Linked DNA regions of Homo sapiens: regions 1, 2, 4, 5, 6 and 7 are each linked to region 3. The links are contacts of gene promoters, found by promoter capture Hi-C in blood cells and fetal thymus (Javierre and others, 2016). All regions are on one chromosome and are shown on one strand. The core of a region is centred on a gene start or on the middle of the fragment in contact, and the rest is flanking DNA. Distances in the headings are between cores, read along the strand shown.

Region 1 (3,029 bases), core at 345-2,844, 570 kb before region 3:
CACGCCTGTCTAATTTTTTGTATTTTTAGTAGAGACGGAGTTTCACCATGTTAGCCAGAATGGTCTCGATCTCCTGACCTCGTGATCTGCCCACGTCGGCCTCCCAAAGTGCTGGGATTATAGGCGTGAGCCACCGCGCCCGGCTTTTTTTGTGAGACAAAGTTTCACTCTTGTTGCCCAGGCTGGAGTGCAATGGCATGGTCTCAGCTCACTGCAACCTCCGCCTCCGGGTTCAAACAGTTCTCCTGCCTCGGCCTCCCAAGTAGCTGGGATTACAGGTGCCCGCCACCACAGCTGGCTAATTTTTGTATTTTTAGTACAGATGGAGTTTCACCATGTTGGCCAGGCTGGTCTCGAACTTCTGACCTCAAGAGATCCACCTGCCTCGGCCTCCCAAAGTGTTGGGATTACAGGCATGAGCCACCACACCCGGCCAACACATTATACCGGTTAACACATTATATTAACGCCCATAACTTCAGCACTTTGGAAGGCCAAGGTGGGAGGATTGCTTGAGCCTAGGAGTTCAGGGTTGTAGTGAGCTATGATCACACCACTGCATTCCAACCTAAGTAACAGAGCAAGATTGTCTCAAAAACAAAATACATACATAAATATATAAAATTTATATTTATATATATAAATTTTTAAATATGTTACTATATCAAAATATTCTATGGTCCAGAGTTTAAAACATAAACAAAGGCTGGGCATGGTGGCTCACACCTGTAATCTCAGCTCTGGGAGGCTGAGACAAGAGGATTCTCTGAGGCCAGGAGTTTGAGACTAGCCTGGGCAACAGACTGAGGCCCCAACTCCAAACGAAATTTAAAAGGTCAGGCATGGTGGCTCACACCTGTAATGCCAGCACTTTGGGAGGCCAAGACAGGCAGATTGCCTAAGCTCACGAGTTTGAGAACCAGCCTGGACAACATGGCAAAATTCCATCTCTACTAAAAATACAAAAACTAGCTGGGTGTGGTAGTACATGCCTGTAGTCCCAGTTACTCTGGAGGCTGAGGTGGAAGGATCACCTGAGCCCTGGCAGTCAAGGCTGCAGTGAGCTGTGATTGTGCCACTGCACTCCAACCTGAGTGACAGAGCAAGACCCTACCTCAAAAATAAATAAATAAATAAATAAATAGATAATAATTAAAAATTAGCCAGGTGTGGTGGCAGGTGCCTGTGGTCCCAGCTATTTGAAAGACTGAGGCAGAAGGGTCACCTGAGCCTGGGAGTTTGGGGCTACAGTGGGCAATGACCATGCCACTGCACTCCAGCCTGGGTGACAGAGTGAGACCTCGCCTCTAAAAAAATAAAATAATCACAAATATCAGCAATTAAAAACTACCAGCTGAGAGAGATGAAGAAGGGAACTCCAGGTTTGTGGTTCTCTGACCCCTCTCTCTTCATACCTAGGGCCTGAAAAAAGGCCTAGAGACAGAGGGAAAAGTTCAGCAGAGAGGGCAGAGGCGTCTGTTTTACCCTTAGGGGTCTTCCAATCAACTGGGAAAGGAGTTACTGAAAACTTGAGCAGTATGGAGTTCTGGGACCTCCTCATTTGTCTCTGTCTTCCCTCCTTCTTTAATTCCTCTCAAGCCCAACTAAAGAGGAAAATTTACCTCAACTTCTAAGCCTTGTAAACAAAAAAAATTTTCCTTGTATATACAAATGCCAATCAACATATATCTATCTAAAACTTCAAGTCCATTTTCCTCTAGGTACAGATCTGATGTTAGCAATCAGAATCATAAACTCAAAATCAAGAAAACAAAAGAGAAAAAAATAAAAGACAGCTCCAAAATATATGTTGCCTTTATTTCACTTTATGACAAGTTTGATTTTTAGGAAAACTTGGACCATTTGGGTTCTTAAACTGATCCTTCACTTCTCTTGATCATGTTGTTAGGAGAGGGGGGTCTGTTTACTTATTTGCAAGGATACACCATCAATCTATAAGTACTAAAGCCTTAATAGAGGGTCTTTTGATGGTCAAAGTCATTAACACCACTAGGTCAGATGCTGCAACACTGTCTTTTGTAATTGAAGAAGTCCCTGACAATAGCTGTTTCTAAGCATACAAACAGAAGCTGTATTATCTGTGACCAAGGCTGTTGTATTTTCAAGGCCCAAGACTATGGATAACACAAGATTTTTTCCAAACAAAAATACTTATTGAATTATACCCTGGAGATACAGAATAAATGAATGCAGTAATCAATACATTTAGTTCTACTTGTCACATACCATAAAGAAATTGGGAGCACTGAGTGTAGCCTTCCTCCATTTCCTCGCACTTATCTGCAGCAGTCTGCATGTCACTGTAGGTCATGGCAAACACAGCGGCTCCTGACTCCACCAAAAACTTACACACTTGGACGTTGTTACATGAGGCAGCACAATGTAATGGAGTCCTGTGAAGCAAGATACGAGGGCTAGAACTGTTTTCCTAAACTGAATGACACCTGCTGATAAGATATCTGGAAAGAAAGTTCTTGAGTCTCTCATCTACCAAGTTTTCTTCTGAAAACCTCTTAAACAGTTTTTTAAAAACCAGTTCAACACAGATGATTGAACCCATCAAAGAATTACAGCCACAAATGAAAATTTCAGAGAGTCATGGACCACAATGGGGCTGGGAGCTTAGCAAAGGGTGAGAAGAATCAAGGACGTGAATAAACAGAAATGAAATGTGTATAAACATTTAAGAAAAACAATATTAACATGGATTTAGTTCTATGTCCTGGAGCATCCAGCCTAATTCTTTCAGAGTAGAAGCCCTAACAGTCCTTAAGTTATTTAAGTTATACACCTTCACTCAAAACACTGGCCTTTAAATATCTATTTATCGTCATCAATTTTGAAGGAATTAAGTTGCATAGATGAACTACTTTTATATTTTTTAAATCCCAAGTTAAAACAAATTTTAATTGAAAAAATTTGTCAAATCAATTGAGACCAGAAAAGTGACTGTAAAATACACATATTTCAACTATAGGTAACTGGTCAGCAGGAATTTATTAATACCA
Region 2 (2,804 bases), core at 56-2,555, 610 kb before region 3:
AATCCAGGAAGGAGGAGTCAGCTGTGAGAACCTGGAGCCTGACGGATGCTTCTAAGTCCCACTGCTCAATACTGGGGTCAGGGAAGCCACCGGACTCCAGCATCAGCAGTCAGGAGCACTAAGCCCTTGCCAACACCGTGCCTGTTTCTCAGAGAAACTGCTTCCATTATTGAATGGTTGTCCTTTTTTAAGCTATCAATGCCAAACGACCCATTAGTAGACCTCCCCTTTCTTGTCAGGATGTAGAAGGAATCAATACAGGAGGTTCATCCAGAAAATCACTAAGGTCCTTCCGACTCTAAGGTTCTACGAGAATCTTTTTTTTTTTTTTTTTTTTTAATACGGAGCCTCATTCTGTCACCCAGGCTGGAGTGAGCGGCATGATCTCAGCTCACTGCAATTTCCACGTTCTGAGTTTCAGCAATTCTTTTGCCTCAGCCTCCCAAGTAGCTGGGACTACAGGCATGCACCACCATGCCCAGCTAATTTTTTTGTATTTTTAGTAGAGATGGTGTTTTGCCATGTTGGCCAGGCTGGTCTTGAACTCCTGACCTCAAGTGATCCGCCCACCTCGGCCTCCCAGAGTGCTGGGATTACAGGCATGAGCTACCGCGCCCGGCCTGAGATTTTCTTTAAAACACAAAATACCAGGGAAATGGTAACTGTGGACATTATACCTTGCCTTCCTGAGCACCCCGAGCTGGGAACAAGGCCAAGGAGAATGTGAGCAGGGGGTCCCTGGAGCATCAAATCTAGACGGTACTAGGGGGTGGCTGTTTGAGAGATTATAGCATCAGTAGTGTCAAGGGTAGCGGCAGCGTCTAATCCCCTCTTGTAGGATCAACGGATGCTATGAAGCGCTATCAGGGGGTGCCACCACTGAGGGCTTCGAAGACTTCACCGGAGGCATTGCTGAGTGGTATGAGTTGAAGAAGCCCCCTCCCAACCTGTTCAAGATCATCCAGAAAGCTCTGCAAAAAGGCTCTCTCCTTGGCTGCTCCATCGACGTAAGTCCAGGCTGCCTTCCCTAGCCTCACCCCATCTGCTCTTGCTGAAGGGAGGCTCCCACAGTGCCCAAGGGAACCCACTGCTCCTGTGTACAACGTAATGCAGCCCTCGTCCACGTAGGGGCCAAAGGAAAACCTCCCTCCACCCTCTGAAGGTCCGCTGAAAATCAACTGGCAAAAGGAAGACTAATACAAGAAATGGCATACAAATGTATGAATGTGGACAGGGGAGAATCACAAGAGATTTCCCTACCACGCATTGGGATACAGAGGGTTATATTCCCTTCCTCTTAGGGGAAGGGAGATGGGGAGGTGCGGATGATTTTAGGGATGTCGTAAATGATTTTTAGGGGAATTCATTGGGCTTAAAGAACATAAATGGTCTGGGATAAAGTCTGTTGGGCCTGCAGAGCAGACAGTGGTTTGTGACAAGTCTGTCTAGCCATGTTGACAGACTTGTCTTTCTTCCTGCAATATGAGTTCAGTTCATAATAACTCATGGAAAGGACCAGACGTCATTGTTTTCATCTTTGGCAGGTCCAGACTTTAGGCAGGTGAGGGAACTTCAGAGAATAGCTTCCTCCTGTGCTTTGGGGGAGAGTGGATCGAGAGACAGAAGGAAAGGGGAGGTCAGAGAGATCTTGAGGCTTCTTCAGTTTAGCATTTCAAAGTGCCATCTCTTAGAGGTATTGGTTTCTGAGCACCCCAGTGTCTACCATTATTGCTCATCACCTGGAAGCCAAGGGTTGCTAGGCAAAAGTCAAGCTGTCTGGGGTGTAATGGATGGGGTGATGGTGCCTCCAGCCCTTCTGTCTTCAGTCCACTTCCCACTCTTAGCCTGCTCTGAATCACCCCCACCCCTCTGACCACAGGTTCCCTGGGAGCCCCTGCCACCTGCTGCCCCTGCCACCTTCCCCTCCATCTGCAGTGCTGTGCAGCCTTCCCCTGCACTCTTGCAGAGCTAATAGGCCCGTGGGAGACTTCGGAAGGAAGAGGAGGAAAGATTTCCTCATAATAGCCTTGCTGGCAACGCTCACCAGGGGATGGGAGGTGGGCACTGTGCCCAGGAGCCTTGGAGCAAAGGCTGTGCCCAACCTCTGAGCCCTGTCCCATCCAGGTTCTGGTCTCTGCGGGGGACAGAGATAAGAAGCCCTGGCTTTTGGAGCCAAAATCTAGGTCAGACTCCCTAGGCAGGAATTCTCAAAGTTTATCAGCAGAACACGTTGAGGCAGAAGACCCTTTCTGCTCCAGCCCTTCTTCCCAGGCTCAACCTTCATCAGAATAGATAGGGGAAAGGAGAGGCTGTGAGGCGTTCTTAAAACAGAAGCAAATTCTGACTCAGACCGGAATAAACAACCGTCCTAGTATAAACCCTACAGCTGGGCTGGGCCAGACCACGGAGCATGGGCTGGTGGTGGGGCGAGGGTGTGCTCAGTGTCCCTGGGCCACTCAAGGCTGTCTGGGTATCAGCCCTGCGCCATCGAGGACCCCCTCCGGCCCTCTCTCGGCCGTGCGCCCTTTCCCTGCGCCATCGAGGACCCCCTCCAGCCCTCTCTCGGCCGTGCGCCCTTTCCCGCCCTTCCCAGCCTGCAGAAATCCGTGGATGCGCTATTCACACGGGAATGCCTGTGCTCGTTCCGCGAGAGGGTTGCATTCCGCCTTTTCTCTGGTATTCTCGGCGTTCAAGCATTTGAACGGGGTAGGAAAGGTTCTCCAAGTGCAAGAAAGCGCAGCCCTGAGCCTCCCACCCCAGGCCTCGGCCGCTGCGCTAGTGCGTCCGGCGGTCCCGCCCGGCAG
Region 3 (3,202 bases), core at 509-3,008:
CCTGGCCAACATGGCGAAACCCCAACTCTACTAAAAATACAAAAAATTATCTGGGTGTGGTGGCATGCACCTGTAATCTCAGCTACTCCGGAGGCTGAGGCAGGAGAATCGCTTGAACTTGGGAGGTGGAGGTTGCAGAGAGCTGAAATGGCGCCACTGCACTCCAGCCTGGGTGACAGAGTGAACTTCATCTCAGAAAAACTAAAACAACAACCACAAAAAAGATGGAAGAGGCATTACATTTGTGGGTGGAAGACATGAACAGAAAACATGTGCCAATTGATGGCAACGTGTTGAGCCAGAAAGTATTGAGCCTATACAAAGACTTCAGTGAGGGATTCCCTAAAACGAGTGATACCAAGCCACTTACTGCAAGTAATGGATAGTTACATGAATGTAAGAATAGATTTGGACTGAAAAATATAAAAATCACTGGAGAGGCTGCATCTGTCTCTTCATCTTATCACATAGGCATTTTATCATCATACATCATCTCAAAAAGAAGGGTCAGTACAATAAGATATTTTGAGACAGAAAGACCACATTTACATAACTTTTATTACAGTATAATTGTTCTATCTTATTATTACTTGTTAATCTCCTACTGTGCCTGATCTATAAATTAAGCTTTATCATAGGTATGTATATATAGGAAAAAACATAGTACACATAAGGTTTGGTACTATCCATCGTGTCAGGCATCCACTTGGGGGTCTTGGAAAGTAGCCCCTGCAAATACAACTGTATTTGTTAAATGAATGAATGGATGAGTAAGACATCGTATTCACTTCTTAAAGATCTTAAAATCTAGAGAGGAGAGAAACATTGCTGTAGGAGAGGATAAACAAAGGACTGTGAAATCTCTGGAGAAATTGAAATCAGGAAGGGAAGGGCAAATCGCAAAAGTCAAGCCAGGAGCATTAAGTTAGATTTGTGCTTTGAGATGAAAACCCCTTACAAATCCTAAGTCAGGGAATGCAATGGTTCTAGAGCCAACTCTAAAGAAAATTTCACACATGGGAAATACATCCTACTGGATATCCGGATTAAAAGCGTTCAGTAGAGACTGGTGCAGTGGCTCAGGCCTGTAATTCCAGCACTGTGGGAGACTGAGGCAGGCAGATCGCTTGAGCCGAGGAATTCGAGACCAGCCTGGGCAACATGGCAAAAACCCCATCTCTATTAAAAATACAAAAAATTAGCCAGGCGTGGTGGTACATTCCTGTAATCCCAGGTACTCAGGAGGCGGAGGTGGGAGGATCACCTGAGGCCAGGAGGTAGAGGCTGCAGTGAGCTGTGACCATGCCACTGCACTCCAGCCTGGGCGACAGAGTGAGACCCTGTCTCAAAAAATAAAATAAAATGAGAAATAATAAAATAAAATTAGCTGGGCATGTCGGGAGGCTGAGGTGGAAGGATTGCTTGAGCCCAGGAATTCGAGGTCATAGTGAGCTCTATCACGCCACTGCACTCCAGCCTGGACGACAGAGCAAGACCCCAGCTCTTTAAAAGAAAAGCGTTGAGTAAATACTTGTTGATTAATTCCATTTCTGGAAATAATCGGATTTATGAAAGAGGCCCTGCCCACCTCTTTGATATGGACTTGTACTAATGAACTACAATTCCCAGCATGCGTCAGAATTAGGGCCGTAGAGTTTTTTAAAATATGGACTACAACTCCCGGCATGCCACACCAGGATTCGAGGACCACACGCCTCAGCCAGCCCCGGCAAGGGCCTATCAGGGGTGGGTCGGGGCATCCGAGCGGGTTTGACGGAAGGAGCGGCGGCGACGGAGGAGGAGGATGGAGGCGGTGGTGTTCGTCTTCTCTCTCCTCGATTGTTGCGCGCTCATCTTCCTCTCGGTCTACTTCGTATCCTTGCCTGAGGCAGGCGAACGCCTTGCCGGGGGACACGGCTGAGGGTGGGCCAGTTGGGCACCCGGGCAGGTGTGTGGGACTAGGGAGGCGCCCGGCGGCGGGCGTGGGCTCCCTGGGAGCTGGCCTGGCCGGGGCGGTGGCGCGGGCCCCGGAGCGGGTAGGAGAGGCTGGCTGCCCTACCCGACGGGCCCTGCTGCCCTGCACGCACTTGCCCTGCCTGGGTTGCCGGCCGCCCCTCACTCGGGTCCGAGTGGGCCTCTCCGGGCGCGCCCCGTCTCGGCCTGCCCGCCTGCTCTCCGCTCGTCCCCGCGGCGCCCGGACCAGCCCTGCCTGAGCCACGGCCGCCCTCGGGAGAGAAGCGTCGCTGTTTTTCTGGGAGAGGCCCTGCGCCGTGCTCTTCGTCGGATATTGGGGGTCCCAAGGGCGGTCGCTTGCGACAGTCGGGTGCCGGGATAAGTGCGGGCCATTTGCCTCCTCCTGTTCCCCACGCAACACCCCCGGCACCCGCCCCTTTGTTCTGGCGGGTGTTAGTACTTGCAGGGACCTTTCACATCCAGGAGTTGACTCATTCGCCAAAGGAGCGAAGTTGCTTCCTTCACTGTGCCGTTTTGTAGTGAGTGTTGGAAAGGAGTTGTTTTAACAACTGTCTACAAAGTGATTATTTTGGTTGTCCCCGGTGGTTGCAGATCTGTAAATTCAATAACTACATCTGCTGTAGTTCCCAATCGTTTCTCAGCTTTTAAATTTTTCTATCGATCCATGTTAAAACTTAAGTTGCAGTATTCAAACTGTTTTCCAGAGCAATAAATGGTGGTTGAATTTAGCACTGCAGTAGCCATGTCGGCTACAACTCTTCCCATCTCTTGACAAAGCATCTAGGCTTAGTTGTTGCCCAATGTTGTATTGCACCATCCAGGTTTAAGTAATTAAATATAAGAAAAAACGTATGAGGAACTCCGCATTTCAGCTTCCTTTCTTGGAAATCACATGTACCTGTTTCTGATCGGATTAAACCATTTGTTTGCTAGAGCATGCGGGCTTTAGGATAGTCGTACAGAGTATATGTTCAGTGCAGCTTCATTTTTCATTGTGGACTGGCATCCTGTTGTAGTGGAAAGGGACAAAATTTGGAATCAGATTTCCTGGTCAGCTAGCTCTTTGCTTGCACATTATTTCCCTAAGCCTCAGTTTTCTGATCTTTAAAATAGGAAATGTTTATTTCCTAGATATGCACAATGAGAATGGTGCTGAGCACCCTAGCACAGTGCCTGCCCCATAGCTAATGTTCAGTAAATATTGCTCTGCCTTCGTGTCCCCACCCTC
Region 4 (2,894 bases), core at 3-2,502, 540 kb before region 3:
CTCCGAAATTTTCAATTCAAACCTTCTGTTTTTTGACCACTATTTCCTTTCAATCTCAGGCGTCTCACTCATTTCCTCTCACACCTGTTCTTTCATCTAACTGAGACTCACAGCCTCTTAACTCTGTCTACTCTTTCCCCACAGCCCCTCCTGTCTTCACTTCTTCCCCACCCAGCTAAGGTATCACCTTGCCAATACCCTCTTCTCCCCTGTCCCACTGAACTCCCATTGAATTTGTCTAGAAACCTTGGGTTTTCTAGACAATTGCCTAGAAAAATTTGTCTAGACACCTTTGTTTTCTTCTCTTCTTACAACCCACCTGGGCTGTAGACCACCACTGGAGAAAAATCATGTATGGTCTCATGGTCTCTAATCTCAACTGGCCTCAATGGTTCCCAGCAGTCTGGCTTCCCTAGTAAGCCCTCTCTCCTAATCTCCAAAACAGCTCCAGCTTCCCACCCACCTCCATCATCACTCCTACCTCAGAGAAAACAAATGTTTTTAGATGAGAAATCCCTCAACTTACTCCCACAAAATGCACAAATTTAGCCACATCTGCCACAGTTTTATTTCTGTCCTGTTATTATGGAAGAGGGATCCTTCCTCTTGTCTAAGAGGACTTTCTGCCTCAGGGCTGTGGAAGGACCTAATCAGGGACCCTGCCTAACAAGTATTTCCTTTCTTATAGTTTCAACCCCCTGCTCTAATGACTCCTTCCCACCTGCATTAAACAACTATAGTCAAACTTCTCCCCTCGACAGCCTATCTCCACTGTTTCCACTTCCTAACCTCTCCTTCACCTCTCAAATTACCTGGCTTCTCATCATGTGCCACCTACTACTCCCAGCACAAAATAAAAGCTTAAATATCTGTCACGATTCACAGAGCACTACCTACCAATGTCCCTGCCAGGGGGGCGTTCATGACGAAGGAAGAAGCGAACTTCGTTCCTCTGACTTCCAAATCGTTGAAGAACATCAAACATTCGCTCATTATCCGCAACTGGACGTTCTAAAGCAAATGAGTAGAAACCACATTATTTTCAGGTAAAAGAAAGATAAATATATCATTCACCATCTATCCTTCATGCAAATTATACATTATGGATACAACAAATGCTTAGTATCTCAGGTAAATTTTTTTCATTAAAACACGTCTTAGAAACTGAAGTCACACAGATTTTCCACACACACAGAGTCAAGCCAGGGTGGAATACTACAAAAGGCAATGCATCTCAGCCAGCTGTCAGGAGCTCAGCAGTCTAAATCCAGTGGGCTCCACGCTGGCCACAGGTGCACCATTTAACTTCTGTGGTTCCAAAAGTTTCTGTAAAATCTATATTAGATCACATAGTCCCTTCTAACACTAATATTCATGATTCTCCGAATATACAAAGAAAATATTAAAAAGCAACTTTCTAAATAGCCTAGTCTTTTTTTTTTAATTGTAGTTTTCAATACAGGCTATTTTTAAATTATAATTTTACAAACAATATTTAAAAAAATCAGACCCATCCATTTCCAAATAAAAGTCTATTTACTGCTGTAAAATGTATCTATATTTGCCCCTCTTCCAGTGAGAATACCAGTGTCAGAATTTTTCTGGAAACAAAAAGAAGGGCACACCTAAATACCTAGTAAAAATAGAAGCTTCAGGAGAAACAATATATCTCAAGCTGTCCTAAAAAAATCTTCCAATCTCAAGGGATCTGGATATAAAAACGAGACACACTGTTTGAGGAGGCAATTGCTTAAAATCAATGAAACTCCAGTAATGTCAACATGATTTTTAAATATAAGAATGTTGAAATACCCTAAGAAAACTCAACACATTTATCAGTAATCAAGGACACTATCTTAACACCTTAAATAAACATGGGCAGAGAACAGAGCAGGCAAGCATTCACCAGCCAATTTGGTGAACCAACCCTGAACTTAATCTGCTTGGCTGCAACAAAATGCAGTTCTGGTTCTACTTCCAGTAACATAACATACTGAGTTGACATAGATAATCCCCTTTTATAAACCACACATATTCTAAGACCTCCCCCAAAAAGGATACACCACAGTTAGAGAGAAACACCTCCAAAAGAAATTCTGAGTAGCCCTTCCACCCACCCCTACAAAATACACACACACATGCTGTACTCAAAACAAGTAAAATCTCCAGGTTCCAGGAGCAAAGAGAGAACTCAAAGGAAGTAAAGTAGCTTGCTGTCCACGCTGGACTGCCCCAGAAAGATATGGACTTCTCACAAGCTCTAGGCTAACATCCCGATGGCCCTGTGATGGCAAAAGATCAGGCATAGGCCTGCATAAGCTGAAACAGACACTTAAAGGCTCTCAAAGCTCCCTACTAACACTCATGTGCCAGCCACACCTACGGTCATGCACTGCATGTTGACAGTGGTCCCATAAGATTTTAAGGCCATATTTTTACTGTACCTTTTCCTATGTTTAGATACACAAATATGTACCACTGTGTTACAACTGCCTACAGTATTCAATACAGTAACATGCTGTACAGGTTTGTAGCCTAGGAGCAAAAGGCTGTATACCATATAGCCTAGGTGTGTAGTAGGCTATACCATCTAGATTTGTGTAAGTACGCTCTATGATGTTCACACAACAAAATCACCTAATGACAAATTTCTCGGCACGTATCACCATTATTGACACATGACTGTATCTCCTTGACAGGGCATTCCTGCCTATGTGACTCTGAACATGCCATTCCTATCATTCATCATCTCCCCCAGCACCCTTTTCTCCTGCAGATGAAATACATCTATTACTGCAACTATCACATTGTATTATAAATGTCTGTGGATACTTGTTTCTCTTTGTGCCCTGTAAGATACCTGAAGGCAACTTTCATCTCTGTATCCCTCTCAA
Region 5 (3,245 bases), core at 742-3,241, 650 kb before region 3:
TAACAACCGTGTGAACTATGCAAAGTAGGTATTATTTCCCCATTTTAAGAGATGGGAGAATGGATAGTTAGTATTTTGAAAATTGCCAGACCCCACACTTATAAGACTACATGTATTATTAGTAAAATTACTACTAGGGGACCCCAGCTATGAAAACCTCTCTGGGAGATAGCACTGGTGGGTGAGGGGCAGCAGCTTCGGCTCTTGCCTCCTGGCAAGGGTGGGATGTAATACCCTAAGCTCCAACAGACTGGGGAAAGAGAAGGGGCTTAGAAAACTGTCTGGGCTGCTGGATTTCTTTCCGGAGTTTCCCTCTCTCCTTCTACTGTCAGCACGTCCCATCTTTTGCAACACCAGGGAGAAGCCTTTCCATGCCTCTTCAGCTCTTGGAATCCCTCCAGAAGCCCCCTCCCTCCTGAGTGGCATCTAACAGGCCTGTCCAATACTCATGCTACAGCTATGAGGAAAGAATAAACCCTGCAGCTGCTTCAGAAGAGAAAGAAATCTCTTTTCAAATGAAACCGTTTTTTGCAGCCCTGTGGAATTCATATTCTCTGTGATCTCCTTTGGATTCAAATCACGGACCTGAAAGAGGGAGGGGAAGAAAACAGGTTCTTTTCCTCTGCCTGGGCCTGCCGTTCCCTCTGCCCTCCTACACTGGGTATGGACAGACCCCAAGGGACCATGGTCTAGGTGTTGGCAGCCAGGCTGGCTCTACAACACAACATGTCAGCTGCTCTGCTGGGCCTCTGTTTACTCATCCATTAAATGAGGAGATAAGATCTCCCTTGACTGGCTGTGAAGATTAAGTGCACAAATATGTGTAAAGTGCACAAATATGTCAAATAAAAACTGAGACTGACACGTGGAGGTGCAAAATTAAAAAGGAAGCTTTGGTTAGTATCTCCAGAACCTGGCTAGGCACGGTGGCTCACATCTGTAATCTCAGCGCTTTGGGAGGCCGAGATGGGTGGATCACCTGAGGTCAGGAGTTCAAGACCAGCCTGGACAACATGGCGAAACCCCGTCTCTATTAAAAATACAAAAATTAGCTGGGCATGGCAGTGAGCCCCTGTAATCCCAGCTACTCAAGAGGCTGAGGCAGGAGAATTGCTTGAACCCGGGAGGCGGAGGTTGCAGTGAGCCGAGATCACGCCACTGCACTCCAGCCTGGGTGACAGAGTGAGACTCCACCTCAAAAAAAAAAAAAAAAAAATCCAGAACCTGCAGATTGTGCCTCTGATGCATCTCAAACATCCAGGGCCAGGGAGAAAATAATCTAAAGAAAAATACTACTGAAAAAGATTCCATTGCCATGGCCCTCTGAGACACACACATTCTTATTCTCTTATTTTCTCTCTCTCTCTCTCTTCTTCTCTCTCTCTCTCTTTCTATCTCTCTCTCTCACTCCCTCTCTCATTTACTCACAAGGTCAGTGGCCCAGACCCAGGCAGTTCTGGATAATCCCAGCTGTTTCTGACTCACCACCATCCTCAGGGCTGGCTGACTCACTCCAGGAAGGTTTTCCACCATGAAGTGTTTGTCTATGTCCTTGTGTTCCCGTGAAAAGGATTGTGTGGTCAGAGAAAGAGAAGACTTTGCTGGGTCAGTGAGATAGCATAGTGTGAGAGGCTTTGGGAAGTAGAAAAAGCAACATTAACTCAGGTTTAAAAACTAGACTTTGTCCAAATGGTTGGGGAAAGTAGTCATTGTATGTGTTTGCAATTAAATTTGGGTGGCATAGGACAGCCTAAAGCCCTTTGTAAGCAGAGCTCTATGTGCGCAGCGATCCCTAGAAGGCTGGCAAGGGGAGTGGCCAGGGCTGCACCAAAGAGGGTGTTGCCTAGCTGGGGAAGAGGAACTTCAGGTGAGCCAGGAGGCTCTTCTGCTCCCAGGCTGTGCAAAGCTTCTGAGTTGACTGGAATGATAGGTCTGATCTGCCCATTTGTTGCTAAAATGACTTAGGAGGGAAATGACCTCCACCTGCCTGGGAGGAGTCACTTCCTCCAGAGATGAGCTGTCCTTGAGGAGATCAGTGGGAGGAGAAGCCTGCGCTCTGCCCCACTGGGCAGAAGGACAAGCTTTCTCCCAAGAGCCTCGAGCCCAGAAGAAGTCGGGGTGGGGCCAATGGAAATCAGACAGTGGAACAAATGAACAGCTTCCAGGACAGGGCTGTCGCTTTCCTCTGTTTTCAATTGTGATGGCTTCATGAAACCCTTGCACCAGAAACCCATGAGCTAGAAATGAATGCCTGTATCCCCATCTCTGGACTCAGAGTCCAGAGTGCCAACCATTACACAATGGAACCTGTGTCCCCGCCTTATTCAAGAGTAAAGAAAGCAAAGCCTGGTGGTGGACGGTGGTACCTGCCCATCAGGCAGCATGCCCAGACTTGCAAACCAGAGATGGAGGATGTCAAATAAAAACAAAACCATGGGAGACTGAGGCAGGAGAATCACTTGAACCGGGAGGCGGAGGTTGCAATGAGCCAAGATCGCGCCATTGCACTCCAGCCCGGGCAACAAGAGTGAAACTCTGTTTAAAAAAAAAAAAAAATCCAGACTTTTATAAAGGGACACTTCAATAGAAAGAAAGACTATTGCAGGCCAGGCGCAGTGGCTCACACCTGTAATCCTAGCACTTTGGGAGGCCAAAGCAGGTGGATCACCTGAGGTCAGGAGTTCAAGACCAGCCTGGCCAACATGAGGAAACCCCGTCTCTACTAAAAATACAAAAAAATTAGCTGCACATGGCGGCTGGTACCTGTAATCCCAGCTACTCAGGAGGCTGAGGCAGGAGAATCACTTGCACCCGGGAGGCGAAGGTTGCAGTGAGTGGAGATTGCACCACTGCACTCCAGCCTGGGCAACAAGAGTGAAACAAGAAAGAAAGAGCGAAAGAGAGAGAGAGAGAGAAAGAGAGAAGGAGAGAAGGAGAGGAAGGGAAGAAGGGAGGGAGAAAGAAAGAAAAAATAGAGAAAAAGAGAAGGAAGGAAGGAAAAGAAAGAAAAGAGAAGAGAAAAGAAAAAAAAAGAGAGAAAGACAATTCCAATTCAGAGAATCTGCAAGCAGCTCAAAATCAAACAGAAAAAGATTCTTCTTTTCTAGGGTAAAGGAGGAGCAAGTGGAGATAAGCAGACTCTTGGGAGGGGAAGCTGGACAAGTGAGGGGAAATGACCAGTGGGAGCTGACAGGAAAAGGGTCTTGCTGTGTTCAGTCAATTCCCAGGAGAAGCTGGGCAGGGAA
Region 6 (3,081 bases), core at 153-2,652, 590 kb before region 3:
CTTGAGCAGTGGTTTGTAGTTCTCCTTGAAGAGGTCCTTCACATCCCTTGTAAGTTGGATAAGATCGTCTTCTTGATTTAGATAAGGGCTACTTTCATGAGGATCCTACTTCCCTTTTGCTCTAGCTCCTTCCCAGGCCACCCACCTTTCCCCAAGGCAAACTAGTCATCCATTTCCCCCTTGTTTCCAATGCTTAGTGAGAAGTGGTGGTAAGGGGCAGCCTAAGCTTCTGTGAAGTTTTTTCTGTTTGTTTGTTTAGTTGGTTGGTTGGTTTTTTGAGACGGGGTCTCACTGTGTCACCCAGGCTGGAGGGCAGTGGCATGATCTCAGCTCACTCGAACCTCCGCCTCCCAGGTTCAGGTGATTCTCCCCCCTCCAGCCTCCCTAGTAGCTAGGACTACAGGTGCGCGCCACCATGCCCAGCTGATTTTTCTATTTTTAGTAGAGACAGGGTTTCACCGTGTTGGCCAGGCTGGTGTCGAATTCCTGACCACAGGTGATCTGCCCACCTTGGCCTCCCAAAGTGCTGGGATTAGAGGTGTGAGCCACCATGCCTGGCCACTTCTGTGAAGTTTTATCTAGTGGATTCATGGTGTACACCTGCTAGCTCCCTTCACCAAAGGCCTCTTAGATATACTCCACATACTTTAAAAAAAACAGCAAGGGCCTAGCCACTAGAAGCCATCCAAAGCCCTCTGCATGTCATCCAATACCTCATTTTTAGTAGTATCTGGGGCCTCCACAGCACCCCTAGATCAAAACAGCAACCAGATTCGGCAGGGAGCCAGCAGGTCTTTCTCGCCCTTCCTCCAATCCTTTAAATGGAGGTTTAGCCAGTGGGAAAAGCAGGAAAAGGATCCTTCTGCAAACCCTCCTTGTGTATATGCTATGATATTCAAAAGATCCAGTTGAGAAGACAAACTAGGTGACACTATGTGCAAATGGACCCACACTCAAGGGCTTTCCTTGACTGAAGGCAGTCGGACGGGAGTGGCAAGCTGGGGCTGAAGGAGTTCTACATTCTCTGGACGAAGATTCAAAAATACCAAGTAAGATCCCAGAGATGCGGGTGGATCTGTGTTGGGAAACATTCTGTTCATATGCTTTAAGATGCAGCAACTCCTGCACAGAGTGGAGAAACATTTCCAAGGGGATTGGGATTTTACCCATAATGAAGCTCAGAGTGAGTAAAGATGGGGCTGAGGAAATGCAAACAAAAAACCAACCAGGACTTCGCAGGTGAAATGGCCTATTCCCTTCCTCCTGATTATTGGGATCATCTAAAGGCCACCATCAAGGGTTTCCTGAAAAGGGTTTTTGACAGCTAAAGTACAAAAATTATATAAGACAAGAACATGGACCTATGGGCGTTGGCTGGCTGATTTGATGGGCATATTTACAAACCAGCTCACAGACAGAAGCAAAATACTATTAGTTATTTAAGGCAGAAACATAAGTGATTCTTCCACGGCCAAACTAGAGGCACAGAGCTGGAAAAACTTCATCCCCACTCAGCACATACTAGGGAGGTAACTTGCCAGCTTTGCTTTGGGTCATAGTTCTTACAGCTAACTTATGTGTTCCAGAAAATTTACCGAGAAATCGACGTTGACAGGTCTGGTACCATGAATTCCTATGAAATGCGGAAGGCATTAGAAGAAGCAGGTAACCCTTTATAACTGCATTTTCGTTCCTAGTTTAATCTGTCTGTAGAATATGTGAACACTCATCTTATACCATATAACACAAGATTTGGTAAAGCTATAAAATAAAGTAGGTGCTGGTTTAATACAGACACCTCCTTTTCATTCCCCTTTCAAAGACTAATTGGTAAAATTAAATGCAGTAGGATGCTCTGCCCTCTGTGCCTTCTTGAATCCAAGTTTCCTTTGGAGCCGCCTGGCACAGTAAGCAGGCAAAGCCAGGTCTCAACAGCCTCCTCCAGGTGCTTCCTTTCTGGTGCAGGGTTGGTTAGGCAGAAATCAAATGTCTCAGCTCAGCCCTTAGGGTAAGACCCTAGCAGAATTGGATATCAATAAAAGGACACAAGCGAGTGGTAGACCAGCAAAGCAGGAGACTGCTGGGCTTTGGGAACAAATGTGTCAGCATGAGGCTGTTCATTCTATTTGCTGGAATATAATGCTGCTGCAGAGACCCCACACAACATTGGTTTATACGAGGTATGTCTTTCTGTCGTATAGCAATCCCAGCTCCAGCAGTCCACGGCTAGGACGGTGCCTCCTACTATCCTACCATGTCACTATCTGATCACGCTTCCCCCAGCCTCCCCCCATCCATGATGCCCACCGGACCTTCAAGGGTCACCCTCATCCAAGGGACCTGGGACAGCCTGCCACCACAAACACATGCCACCAACAGGTTGACAGAAGAAGGGCCCCTTGCCTTTAAGGGCACACAGGCCATTTCCGGTCACACATCCCACCAGCCAGACTCTGATCACAAGGCCTCTGTTGACTGCAAGGAAGCTGGGACATGCAGTCTTGATGCTAGGTGGCCATAGGCTCAATAAAAATTATTTTACTCTGGAAGGAGAGAGAACTACTATGAGTTTACCAGGAAAGCTTCTGCTCACATATATCCAGGAAGAATCTGATCTTCAAGACGATTGAGAGCTAAACAAAAAATCAAACAGCAGCAGCATGGTTAACAACATGAAGCAACTGTGACCATGAGAACAGAAACAGGCAAGAAAACACTTATGTGTCAGCAAAGGACACAGGCAGGGTGAAGGTGGACAGTTCAAAAACAAAAGAAACAGCAGAAGGTACTGGCTTTGCAAAATCAAACCAGTCTCACAGAAGAGCAGCCAAGGGACAAAAGCAATTATACCTCATTTAAATCACCACATTAGTTTCATAGCCTGTGAGCGCAGCTAAATGGAACAATCTAATGCTTAGCAATGAGTTTGTTTGTTCATGTAACTTCAGGTTTCAAGATGCCCTGTCAACTCCACCAAGTCATCGTTGCTCGGTTTGCAGATGACCAGCTCATCATCGATTTTGATAATTTTGTTCGGTGTTTGGTTCGGCTGGAAACGCTATTCAGTAAGTGGATATTTGG
Region 7 (3,019 bases), core at 180-2,679, 630 kb before region 3:
GCCTGTCTATTGGAATTTGTGGTGCCTTTTTAATAAGTATGCAGTGGCTCACACCTGTAATCCCAGCACTTTGGGAGGCTGGGGCAAGAGGATCGCTTGAACCCGAGTTTGGGACCAGCTTGGGCAACATAGCAAAACTCTGTCTCTACAAAAAAATTACCTGGGCTTGGTGGCACATGCCTGTCGTCCCAGCTACTCGGGAGGCTGAAGCAGGAGGATCACTTGAGCCCAGGAGGTAGAAGCTGCTGTGAGCCGTGCACTCCAGCCTGGTTCTGGAGCCACTGCACTCCAGCCTGGGCAACAGAGGGAAAACTTATCTCAAAAAGTAAATAAATAAGTACCCATGTAGTTAAAATGTTTAAAGACTAGCAAATAGATGTTGGCTGGTTTGATGGAGAAAGTAAATCCATTCTTTTTCTTAAAAATGATCTCTTCACCACCAGTCCCAGCACCCCCCTTACCAGCCTCCCAGGGCACTGTCCATGGCTACATTGTCCATGGGCCATCATGTCCCCTCGGCTTCTCTTCTGGTTGTAAATGCTCTTGCACTTTTCTCCCTTGTGGCTGCCGTCCACACTCCCAGCTGCCTTCCCTCTGCACTTAAGATCTAAGATCTTAGAGACGAGATGAGACATCTCTTGCCTTCGTGCATCTAAGACAGCTCATCAACAGGTCCAGGTGAACTGCTAACACTGCTGTGTTGCTTGGAGGCCCCTGTCCCACCCTGGCTGCCTCAGCTTTGGCCATGGTACCCACGGTCTCCAGCTACATCAGATGCCTGAAGAACAAATCTCTCCTTAGCTCTCCCTGCCCCCTCTCCAGGAATAGGAGCAGTGGGACCCCCTTCAAGAATCCCCCATTTCCCATATACTTTCCTGCAAAGCCACAGGGCGTGCAAAGTGGGATTCCAGGGCTCCAGCCTGCTCCCCATGGGCCTCTGGATCCAGGGGTGACTCTTTGCCTGTTTGGGTGCCTCTTTAGATTTTCCACCAGCTTCCTGTGGCCAGGAGCCAGACCACGCCCCTATACGGCCATAGTTGTCTTATCTTGTCTCTGAGATTAGAAGGTTGGAACAGATTTTCCTGATGCCCCACTACTTCTGACATTCTGTGACTTTAGAATGTTACCTTCCTCGACAGCCCCCTGCACCCTCACACATCTGGCTTTAGCTGGACTGGTGTTTGTGAGGAATTATATCTCCACCTTGTTCAGCACCAGTCCCCAAGAAGACCAGCCAAGGGACACTCATCTGGGGATTTGAGAAATGAAGGACCGTGGGTTCCATGAGGTCTGTTGGGGTCCTGGCTAGCAACACTGTCTGGATGATTGAGCCCCAGGAGGAGGTGGCCTGGCCAGCAGGTGTGCAGTGAGGCCACTTCTAGACCACCCCTGTCCCATAGAGCTTCTAGTGATGATGGAAACCGTGTATATCTGCACTGCTCCAAACAGCAGCACTAGCCCTGTGTGGCTGTGGAGCACTTGAAATATGACTCATGCAACTGAGAAACTGAATTTGTAATTTTATTTAATTTAAATGTAAATAGCCACATGTTCCTTGTGGCTGCTGCACTGCACAGCAGCAGACTGTTGCGCTCTGGAATCCAGCCTCTCAGCCTTTACTCTCCAAAGCGGGATAGTATTCACATCAGAGCCAAACAATGCACAGACGTCAATAAACAGGCAGGGCATGGTGGCCCATGCCTGTAATCCCAACACTTTGGGAGGCTGAGGTGGGAGGGTCCCTTCAGCCCAGGAGTTCAAGACCAGCCAAGCAACATAATGAGAACCCATTTCCACAAAAAAAAATTTTTTTAATTAGCTGGGCATGGTGGTGTGCACCTGTAGTTCCAGCTACTTGGGAGGCTGAGGTGGGAGGATCACTTTGAGCCCAGGAGGTCAAGGCTGCAGTGAGTCGTGATTGCACCATGACATTCTAGCCTGGGTGATGGAGTGAGACCTTGTCTCAAAACAAACAGCTAAACCTACATCAATAAACATCTGTAAATATCAGGGTAGCGAATGAGGACTTGGTGTCTGGCAGTTAGGGACTGGCCTCTTATTCTGCCACATACTGGCTCTGTCATTTTGAGTGGATCACTATCCTCTTCACACCTCAGTTTCCTCATCCGTGAAATGAAGATAATAATAGTGCCTACTATCAAGACCATCCTGGCTAACACGGTGAAAACCCATCTCTACAAAACTACAATATGAAATACAAACAATTAGCCGGGCGTGGTGGCATGCACTTGTAGTCCCAGCTACTCAGGAGGCTGAGGCAGGAGAATCGCTTGAACCTGAGAGGTGGAGGTTGCAGTGAGCCATGATCGCACCACTGCACTCCATCCTGGGCAATAGAGCGAGACTTCATCTCAAAAAAAAAAAAATTGTGTCTACCTCAGAGGACTGTAAAGATGAAATGAAATAATAGACATATAAAGCTCAGAGCTCCAGAGGCTGGTACATAGTAAAGGTTTAATCCATGCAGATTGCACGTTCTCTTTGGGGACAGTACAGCTGGAGGGGAGTACTGTCAAATGAGGTCGCGTCGCTGAGGTGGAGACACATTGTGGCACATCTTGAATACCCGACTGGGTCCCAGCTTTAGCACTTGACATTGGCGGCCACCTAAGTTTTGGAGAGGGGTATGACAGAGGAGGTGGTGTCCCAGGGGGAAGGTCCGGAAACTCAGAGGAGTTTCCTGCTGTAATTTTCTTTGGTCACACAATGGTCATGGCCTCCTGATGTTTCCCACAAAGGGCCAGAGGCCCTTCAGTGCCAAGGAACGTGGACTCTCTCCTATCCCAGCACATACACGTGCTTCCAGTACCTTGTGATCTCTAGCCATAAGTTTCCACTCACCCATCTGCGAAATGGGAACAATGACGATGTTTGCGTCCTTTCTTTTTCTTTTCCTACAATGCAGGGAACTTTAAGACTATGTGACAGAAAGGTGCCACTGGAACCCAGGGCCTCGTGGGTTTCCTCCGTCTCTCGGGAGACCAGGATCCGAGTGAGA

What was found. Contacts are between HindIII fragments. The CHiCAGO score rates a contact against its expected background, and 5 or more counts as called.
Region 1: a fragment that was not itself captured here is called in contact with the fragment with the promoter of CNIH4 in region 3 in 3 of 17 cell types (erythroblasts, naive B cells and total B cells); the score reaches 5.9 in erythroblasts.
Region 2: a fragment that was not itself captured here is called in contact with the fragment with the promoter of CNIH4 in region 3 in 4 of 17 cell types (monocytes, naive CD8 T cells, total B cells and 1 more); the score reaches 6.7 in monocytes.
Region 4: a contact is called between a fragment that was not itself captured here and the fragment with the promoter of CNIH4 in region 3, in 11 of 17 cell types (total B cells, naive B cells, monocytes and 8 more). The highest score is 13.8, in total B cells.
Region 5: a contact is called between a fragment that was not itself captured here and the fragment with the promoter of CNIH4 in region 3, in 8 of 17 cell types (total B cells, naive B cells, erythroblasts and 5 more). The highest score is 7.5, in total B cells.
Region 6: a contact is called between a fragment that was not itself captured here and the fragment with the promoter of CNIH4 in region 3, in 3 of 17 cell types (erythroblasts, naive B cells and monocytes). The highest score is 7.2, in erythroblasts.
Region 7: a fragment that was not itself captured here is called in contact with the fragment with the promoter of CNIH4 in region 3 in 6 of 17 cell types (M2 macrophages, monocytes, total B cells and 3 more); the score reaches 8.8 in M2 macrophages.

Annotation. Positions count from the first base shown.
Region 1 is chr1:223,786,761-223,789,789 of GRCh38, forward strand. It overlaps TP53BP2 (tumor protein p53 binding protein 2), which reads right to left. Exons shown (of 18, transcript NM_001031685.3): 16 at 2,248-2,414. Among named protein-coding and RNA genes, the nearest start is that of TP53BP2, 58 kb to the right of the region's middle. The HindIII fragment of the contact is 7,487 bases long and covers 1-3,029 here.
Region 2 is chr1:223,746,159-223,748,962 of GRCh38, forward strand. CAPN2 (calpain 2) reads left to right here. Exons shown (of 21, transcript NM_001748.5): 5 at 839-1,007. Among named protein-coding and RNA genes, the nearest start is that of CAPN2, 35 kb to the left of the region's middle. RefSeq lists a silencer at 1,949-2,243. The HindIII fragment of the contact is 6,197 bases long and covers 1-2,804 here.
Region 3 is chr1:224,355,121-224,358,322 of GRCh38, forward strand. It overlaps CNIH4 (cornichon family member 4), which reads left to right and starts at 1,759. Exons shown (of 5, transcript NM_014184.4): 1 at 1,759-1,873. The coding sequence starts at 1,805. RefSeq lists enhancers at 1,412-1,551, 2,109-2,609 and a silencer at 1,832-2,201. The HindIII fragment of the contact is 2,727 bases long and covers 626-3,202 here.
Region 4 is chr1:223,813,343-223,816,236 of GRCh38, forward strand. TP53BP2 (tumor protein p53 binding protein 2) reads right to left here. Exons shown (of 18, transcript NM_001031685.3): 3 at 898-1,011. Among named protein-coding and RNA genes, the nearest start is that of TP53BP2, 31 kb to the right of the region's middle. The HindIII fragment of the contact is 789 bases long and covers 859-1,647 here.
Region 5 is chr1:223,705,883-223,709,127 of GRCh38, forward strand. LOC105373281 (a long non-coding RNA gene) reads right to left here and starts at 1,768. Exons shown (of 3, transcript XR_949164.2): 1 at 1,486-1,768. It also overlaps a transcript of CAPN2 not described here. RefSeq lists enhancers at 777-1,976, 1,977-2,476. The HindIII fragment of the contact is 175 bases long and covers 1,905-2,079 here.
Region 6 is chr1:223,768,861-223,771,941 of GRCh38, forward strand. It overlaps CAPN2 (calpain 2), which reads left to right. Exons shown (of 21, transcript NM_001748.5): 17 at 981-1,049; 18 at 1,587-1,665; 19 at 2,949-3,065. Among named protein-coding and RNA genes, the nearest start is that of CAPN2, 58 kb to the left of the region's middle. The HindIII fragment of the contact is 2,356 bases long and covers 225-2,580 here.
Region 7 is chr1:223,723,009-223,726,027 of GRCh38, forward strand. The region is part of intron 2 of CAPN2 (calpain 2); the gene reads left to right. Among named protein-coding and RNA genes, the nearest start is that of CAPN2, 12 kb to the left of the region's middle. The HindIII fragment of the contact is 6,664 bases long and covers 1-3,019 here.